2 separate regions of the Homo sapiens genome follow, and region 2 is linked to region 1. Evidence: promoter capture Hi-C in human tissues and cell types (Jung and others, 2019). All regions are on one chromosome and are shown on one strand. The core of a region is centred on a gene start or on the middle of the fragment in contact, and the rest is flanking DNA. Distances in the headings are between cores, read along the strand shown.

What was found. The method cuts DNA at HindIII sites, captures the fragments that hold promoters and counts their contacts. A contact is called where the count stands out against the background at its distance.
Region 2: a contact is called between the fragment with the promoter of TTLL8 here and the fragment with the promoter of IL17REL in region 1, in 1 of the 25 tissues and cell types used here (H1 embryonic stem cells).

What each region holds. Positions count from the first base shown.
Region 1 is chr22:50,011,020-50,015,104 of GRCh38, reverse strand. It overlaps IL17REL (interleukin 17 receptor E like), which reads left to right and starts at 2,340. Exons shown (of 15, transcript NM_001371417.1): 1 at 2,340-2,560. The coding sequence starts at 2,459. RefSeq lists an enhancer at 1,855-2,455 and silencers at 3,970-4,019, 4,030-4,085. The HindIII fragment of the contact is 6,785 bases long and covers 1-4,085 here.
Region 2 is chr22:50,056,269-50,060,353 of GRCh38, reverse strand. TTLL8 (tubulin tyrosine ligase like 8) reads left to right here and starts at 2,056. Exons shown (of 14, transcript NM_001350317.3): 1 at 2,056-2,200; 2 at 3,381-3,485. The coding sequence starts at 3,419. It overlaps MLC1 (modulator of VRAC current 1), which reads left to right. Exons shown (of 12, transcript NM_015166.4): 12 at 1-963. The HindIII fragment of the contact is 29,458 bases long and covers 1-4,085 here.

The DNA of each region.
Region 1 (4,085 bases), core at 1,091-3,590:
ACCAGGACGACGACCCGGAGCCACGCGCGTCTCCGTGGAAACCTGCGCGGAGCTGAGGCCGAGAACACAGCGCTGTTGTGGTGAACCCGCGTCCTCGCCGTGGTTTTCTTGGGAACCTCGTGCCCAGCACCCCCGCACCCGCTCCGGACCCTCCGAGCCGCTCTGGGGAAGGCTCCAGCCCGGGTCCCGGGCGGACGCTGGTTCGTTCCTTCCCGCGTTCGTCCGACGAGTCTCGGCGCCGCCCAGGGTCTCCGCACCCCGTTTCCTCCCATCTGGTGCCCAGCGCGGGCGCGGAGGGAGCCCCCGGGGTTGGACCCTCAGATCCCTTCACCGTTGGGCTTCTGGGCGACCGATGGTCACTGGGCTGTGTGGCCGTGCTGCCCTGGAGACCCAGACTTGGAAAGACCCCACCCCCACCCCAGGCCTCGCCCAGCTGCGGTGGGTGATCTCGGTGGCCGGGGCCCGCCCAGGAGCCCGTGGCCTGGCTCTTCATGGATACTGAGCAGGGCCAATCCCCCAGCCCTCAGAGACAGGGCTGGAGCCCTCTGACCTCAGGCTGGAGAGGGTGGCCGGGGGCCTGGGGCAGAGGGCAGAGGCCGGCCCCACTGTCCTTCCCTGGGCCTTGGAACCAGCACCAGCCACACCCCGTGGGCCGTCCCTACACGAGATCACCGACTACTGGCCACCTGCAGCCCCTGCCTGCGTCACGGCACGCTGGGATGGCGCCTTCAGGCAACGGGTGTGTCGTGGTGGGGGCCTGTCCCAGAGAGGCCTGGAGAGAGGTTTGGGTGTGAGTGGGCCCATGGGGGAGGGACATTTGTCCTTTCCCAATGATCCTGCTGGCCGTGCCCATGGACATCGTCTGGGACACCCCTGCCACAGTACAGCAGCCCCCATCGTCCCCTGGTATAAGGAGGGCTGGAGGCCAGGCTGAGGGGCGAGGCCCAGCTGGAGTATCTGTCTTACAGCTCAGCCAGCCTGGGATAGGGGATGACAGTGGCCCGTCCTGAGCCACCCCCAAATGTGCCTGCCTGCTGCTGACCATGCCGTGGCATGGAGGCTGGCACTAGCCACTCTCTCCAGGGCATTGTGGCCACAGGCACGCTGCTGCAGGGGGCGGGCTCAGCCCCATCTACTCTGCCCAGCAGTGAGTGCATAAGTTCCAGCCCATGGAGGGCTCTAGGCCAGGCGGGGGCAGGGTCGAGGTGCTGGCCCAGGAGGCAGGGAGGTGGGCAGTGCGGGGTGGTGGGAGGGAGGGAGGACTTCACGGTCACAGCAGCCCCTGCCGCCTTCCCTCCCCTGGGACCGAACCCCAGAGCTTGTTTCTCAAGCTCCCTCCTGACTACCCGAGCCCACAGTGTGAGGCCCACAGCCTCTCCCAGCCTGGGGGTGGTGCCGCCCTCCACACTTGGGGTGTCCTGTGGGTATTCCAGGCAGAACACCCCAGCTAGACACTCCCAGGCTCCCCAGCTATTAACTCCCGCCATCCCCCCCCCACACACACACAGACACACACACACACACACACACACACACACACACACACACACACACACACGTGGGGCAGTGCCCTCCCAGAACCTGAGGCAGGTGCAGAAGCCTCTGTGCCTGTCCAGGAAGGGAGGAGCCAGGAGGACCCAAGAACTGCACCCTGGTTCTCTCCAACCCCCTGCCCTGGCTGGAGGCAAATGGGAAGCAGTAAGCTTCTGCCCAGAAACTTTCCTATGCATTTGATGCTCCAAATAAGAAGATGACACAGAACGGCTCCCTGAGCAGAGGCTGGGCCCCAGAGTTCCCAGCCTCGGGGGGTGCCCTCCGGAGTGGGGGGGGGCTCATAGGGAGGACCACACAGGGGAGGTGGCCTTTTGCATCTTGAGGGGAGGTGGAGGCCAGGGACTTGGGTGGAATCTCAGGTCTTAGGAGAGGGCTCCCCTTAGGGGCTGGGGCTGAAGCCAGGGGCTCTGGGGTATGAGTGCCCAGGACAGATTCCACCCCTCTGCCAGCCCAGCCAGCTTTCCAGGGCCCTTGTCTACCCTCCTGGCCTCATGCATGCCTGAGGGAGGTGCACGCCGGCGGCAGCCTATCCCGCCGGCCTGGAGCCATCTCTGCACCAGTGGCCGCCCTGTGGGGAACCCCATTAGGGTGTCCTCGGACCCCAAAGGCCCCAAGGTTTCTGGATGCTTCCTTTGGAAACCTAGAAACTCCACAAGTGTCTGGCCACAGTCTTCTGGCCCCAGGCGGTGGAAAGTCTCCCGGGCTGCTGTCTGTGAAGCGAGCCCTGTTTTGCCGGGAGGGGGAGTGTCTCGCTCGCTCCAGCTGTGAAGAGCAGCCTCCACCCTCTGTTTGTCTTTGGGGCTGGAGCTGCAGGGTCAGCCTGGAGCCGCTGCCACAGGGCATCCTGCAAACTTGCCCCACTCACATCCACGCTTACCAGTGGGAGCTCTCACTGCACAGCCAGATGCTGGCTGGGCAAGCACTCGCGTTCTTGGGCCTGACCTGGGGCACTTTCCAGAGCCTGGCCATCCCCCGGATTACAGAATGTGGCCTCTCCTGTTCTCAGGTAAGCTCCTGCCTCCTCCTAGGCCCCTACACTGTGGCAGATAAGGCCCTGGTTTCTCCTCAGGTGGGTCTGGCCTGACGCTCTCAGCACATCAGCAGGTGAGGGGTTGCAGGGCCCTGGGGGGTCCGAGGGCAGCGCTGGTGAAAGAAGGATGGGAGACCTGGCCTGACCCTGCCGAGCTGCTCCGGGAAGTGTTTGCTGGAAGCTCAAGGCAGGGTGAGCCCACCTCGGACCCACCTGTGACCTCCAAGGAGGCTGTGTTAGAATCTAGGGCAGCCCGCAAGCCCATCCGGGGCTCCCACCCCACCCCGCTCGGCTGCTCTGAGCCATCGGGAGCCCGCAACACCTGGGCTTGTGTAGACACCTGCCAAGGAAACACTCGGAGAACGTGCTGAGAATGAGATGTTGGCAGTGGAGGTGGCTGGGTTGGGGTGGAGGGCTCTCACTGCACAGCCCACTCACTCAGCCTTACAGGAGAGGGCGCTTCATCAGCACCTGCAGCAGGAAGTGTACCCAGCATCCCAGGAAGGGGCCCCGGTGCCCAAGGCTGGCCGGGCACAGTGGGGACACAGGCATGGAAAGGGCACAGAAGGTGTCCCGGAAAGGGAGGACTCACTGAGGACCTGCTGGGTGCACCGTTCCTGGCATGGGGACAGCAGTTAGCAAGATGTGCCTTTAGGGTGGTGGCCTGGTCACCTCAGGGGACACTTGCGGGGACATCCAGCAGCTCCACAGGGCCTGAGACGGGTCCAGCAGAGGGCTCAGCTCAGGGAGGGGAGCAGCAAGGGCTGGAGTGCTGGGTGCCATGGGCAGGCTCAGATCCACAGGGCATTCGTGGAACAAGGAAGAAAGCAGGCTGGGATGCGTGGGAACCGGTGGCAGCAGGGGAGATGGGCGGGTTCAGGTGGGAGGGGTGTCCACCGGATGCCACCCTGCAGTGGAGATGGAAAACAGGGAGGGGGCAGGCCTGGGGATCCTGGCTAGGAGGGGGAAGGAGAAGCGAGAGATGAGACCTCAGAATCGACTTTTGCCTCTGGGAGGAAATGGTCCCTGAGTTGGGAGACATGGGGGGAGGCGGCCTTGAAGTGCAAGCTGGAAAGCTTTGCTGAGGCGGCTGCGGGGTATGCAGGCAGCCTCCCGGTCCGAGGTGTGACCGCGCTGTCCACGCTAGGACGGCCAGGTGATCCTGGGGAATGGGTGGGGACCAAGATTGAACCCTCAGTACTCCAAGGAAAGGGGCAGGGGCAAGGGCAGGGGCTGAGGCGGGTGGAAGAGGCCAGGAAGGAGGGGAAGTGCTGGAGGGGAGAGGAGAGGAGGGGTTTGGCGGGGCTGAGGGAGGGTCTCATGGAAGATGGGGTGGGGAGGGTTGAGCAGGAGGGGTCAAGGGGTGACAAGAGGAGCGGGAAGCTGGAGGTGGGTGTAGGGGCGCTGCCTGGGCAGCCTTGGACAGGGCGGTGGTTGCGAGGGGGCGCGGGAGCCCCTGCCCGCGGGGGGAAGCCAGGGAGGGGAGGCTGGGGCTACAGCC
Region 2 (4,085 bases), core at 807-3,306, 46 kb before region 1:
GCTTTGGGTAGTGCCATGGCCAGGAGTGGGTTTCCCTGCGTCTCCTCGTCCCGAGGGCGCCTGGGTCCTCCCAGCTGACGGCAGTAAATCCACAGTGAGTTGGGGCGACTGTGAAACTGGAATGCTGTTACTTTGATAATTACTTTCCAGCAGGTGTTTTCCTTCACAATGGTTTTGTTTCTTTCCTTCTGATCTGAGAAGACATGAACGTTTTCTCTTCACCGCCGTGGGGTGTATTGACTGGTCCCCCATGGGCTGCTGGAAAGGCCCGGAGATGCATCTGTGGCCTGGGGCCATCAAGATCAAAGAACCAGGAGGCCTGGGAGATGCAGCTGGATGGGGCGGCCTGCAGACCCTGCCAGGGGGTTTGAGGACCCTCCCAGGTTTCCCACTGCGGAACAGGAGTGACTCTGGCTGCCAAGATACCTTCATGGTGTTCATGACAAGTGGAATCATTATTTTCAACCATTGAAGGGGGATGCAGGCAAGACACCTTCCCAGCTGCTCCTAGAGGGGACAAGCCAGGCCCTCTCTGCAGTCCTCGGCAGCTCCGGAAGGACACAGTCAGGGGCCGGGCAAACACTTTGGCCACAGCCCCAAACAAGCGCCACCGTGGGAGAGGAGAGGCTGCTGTCACTGGTACCGGATGCAGACCCCACCCTGTCTGCAGGCCACCCCCACCTCCCTGCAGCTTTGAGGCTGGCGGGGTCTGCTCCTGGGAATGGGGTGGGAGCCACAGGGACGACCCGGGGCGGGCTGATGTCTTCTTGGGGGCAGACCAGAGAGCTCAAGTTTCAGAGTCAGAATTAGGCACTTGGAGCGTTTTTGCTGGCTTGCACTTTCTTATTTTCTTATTTTAGAGCGCTTAAAAAATCCGGAAAAATGGGGTTTAAAAGAACTGTCTCTTTCAGTCTACATTTTTGTTTAATACGCTTGAGCAATAAACGCTGACTTGCAGACGTGGCTGTGGCTATTTAATATTGTGTCTCAGCAGCGTCAGCTCACTCAGGTCTAAAAACATCGGGACACAGGGAGGAGGGGCGGGTGGAGGGAGGGCCAGCTTTTCACTCACTGATTTGTGTAACCCCTAGAGGCCAGTACTGGGGTCTGGTGAGAGCCCAGTGGCATTCCCCGGGGAAGAGGGAGGGAGCTGGAAGGGAACCACCCCCGCCAGGGGACGCTCCCACTCCCCCCCTTCAAGTCCCCCACCAGCCCCTTCAGAGTCGGGGCAGAACCTCCCTTTTGGGGTGTCTTGGGAAGTTAAATGCAAAATAAAGTTGATTTAAAACCAAATGAAGACATCTAGGCTTTGGAAAGTTGCCAGGAGTGAGGGTCCTGGTGGGGCAGGTGTGTCTTTCCTACCCCCACTCCGAGATGCCAGATCAGACACGAGCTGCCCTGGCGGGGTGATCCGCGGGGTGCGGGGGGAAACGACAGGGGCCGTGTGGACCTGGGTGGGCTCAGAACCCCCCGGGGGGCAGCGGCGTGGGACCCCACGAGTGGTTCTGCGGATACCAAGGCCCTCCCAAGTTCCGCCGCAGGACGGGGGGCGCTGATACGGTCACCCCGTCGCCCCCATCCGCCAGGACCCGCAGCGCGCAGCCCGGGAGGAGCCCAGCGCCCGCGGCCTCCTCACCCCGCCGCTCCAGCCTCGCGTCGGGGAAGGGCCCAGGGACAGAGGGCGGCATGAGGGCCCCGGGGAGGGCGAGAAGGCCTGGCGGGCCTGGGGGGCCCGAGGGGGAGGGGCAGGATGTGACCCGCGGGTCTTTGTGACCTGGTGGGGGATGGAGTGTGACCTCCACAGGGGGGCGCGGGGCCGCAGCGCGTGACCCGGGGCTACACTCGGGCCCTCCCCCGGCGGACACCATGGCGCGCACCGTCCCGCGCCGCCGACCCCGCAGCCGCGCCTGCTCCGACAGCAGCCCGGGACCCGGACCCCAACCCGGGCCCAGCCCAAGCGCTGATGACTGCTGCCCGTCGGGGCCCGCGCCCCCCGCACGCCGCAGCTCCCCGCGCCCCCGCGCCCCCCGCCGCCCGCGCAGCCCCACGCCCCGGGGCCGCCGCCGCTGCACAGCCCGAGGCCACGGGCCCAGCAGCCGCCGCACCGGGGGTGCACAATGCGCGTGGCCGCCCCAGCACGTTGTCCCAGGCAACCCCAGGAAGCCGGGCGGCGCAGCGCGAGCCACTGACCCGGTCCCCGGTGAGCACGACCCCCGACCGCGGAACCCCAGGCCCGTCCGCGCTTCCGATCCCGGACAGGACCCCTCCTCCCCATCTGCCTTCGGAACCCCAGACCCGCCTCCCACACCCGGAAACCCAGGCCTACCCCCTCCCCGCCCCGGGCCTCCAAATTCTAGACCCCTTACCCTAGGAATCCCAGACCCGCCTAGCTCGGAACCACAGAACTCCCCCACTAAACCTGCCCAACTCTACCCACTCGCCCGCCCTCGAAAGCCCAGAGCTGTTCTCCCCACCTTCCCCCATCTTCTGGGAACTCCACAGCTGTCCACTCCCCTCTGCCTTCAGAACCCCATACCTCTCCTCATTAACCTAGACCTGCACCCCCAACCCAGACCTCCCCCTCGACCTAGACCTGATCCCCAATTGAGACCTGATGCCCACAACCCAGACCTGACCCCCAACCCAGACCTGACCCCGACCCAGACCTGACCCCAAAAACCCAGACCTGATCTCCCAACCCAGACCTGACCCCAACCCAGACCTGACCCCCAACCCAGACCTCCCGCTCAACCCAAACCTGACCCTCAACCCAGACCTGACCCCAACCCAGACCTGACCCCCAACCCAGACCTCCCGCTCAACCCAGACCTGACCCCCCAACCCAGACCTGACCCCAACCCAGACCTGACCCACAATCCAGACCTGATCCCCCAACCCAGACCTGACCCCCAACCCAGACCTGACCCCCAACCCAGACCTCCCGCCCAACCCAGACCTGACCCCAACCCAGACCTGATCCCCCAACCCAGACCTGACTCACAACCCAGACCTGACTCACAACCCAGACCTGACACCAAACCCAGTCCTGACCCCCAAACCCAGACCTGACCCCCAAGCCCAGACCTGACCCCAACCTAGAACTGATCCCTCAACCCAGACCTGATCCCCAACCCCAGAGCTGACCCCTAATCCAGACCTGACCCCCAACCCCAGACCTGACTCCCATCCCCAGACCTGACCCCAACTCAGACCTGACCTCCCAACTCCAGACCTCATCCCCCAACCCAGACCTGATCCCAACCCCAGAGCTGATCCCCAACCCCAGACCTGACCCTCAGCTTGGGCCTCAGAACCCTCTCCATCCCCAGAGCCCCCCACACCCTCCCAGTTTCCTGTAACCACCACACCCTCTCCTCTAGGGGTCAGAGGAGCAAAGGGCAAGCTGTCGGAGGCCAGTATGGAACCAGAGAGGAAGGGGCTATCGTTGGCTTCTTCTTCAGATGGAGACGGGAGAGAAGAAAATAGTGGGTATCGTGTATTGCCTGTGTGCCAGCCACTCGCCCAGAGTGGCCCGGGCTCAGAGGCAGTGCTGGCTGCAGCCTGCTGCCAGGAAATCAGGGACTCTGGGGGCAGGCACTTCACTGAGCTGCAGAACCAGGCGCCTTCTCTTGGACGGTCCAGGCGGAGGACCCCAGGGGTGTTGGGGGGCGCTGGCTCCTGCCTCCTGTACCCCGATCCCACTGGCCAGCTTCCTGGGAAACTGGGAAATTAAACGTGTGGGTGTGGAGGGCTCTCCTGGCGGGTCGTGGAGGCCCTGCACTCGCCTCTCTCTTCCTTCCTGCCCTTGCCCTCTTCAGACTCGTCTTCGTTGCGTGGGTAAATGCTCCCTAGGAGTCAAATGACTGGGTTACATGGCAGGCGCATACTTAGCTTTAGAAGGTCCCCCAACCGTTTAAGGGCCAGATCGAGAGCTCCGGTGCCCCCGCCCCCGTCCCCACCCGCAGTGGGTGTCCTCGCTGCCATTTCAGGCACTCGGGTGTGTGGTTTTAATTTGCATTTCCAGACAGCTCAAGGTGTTGAACTGTTTTTCACATGATTATTGGCCATTTGGAGCTCTTCCTTCT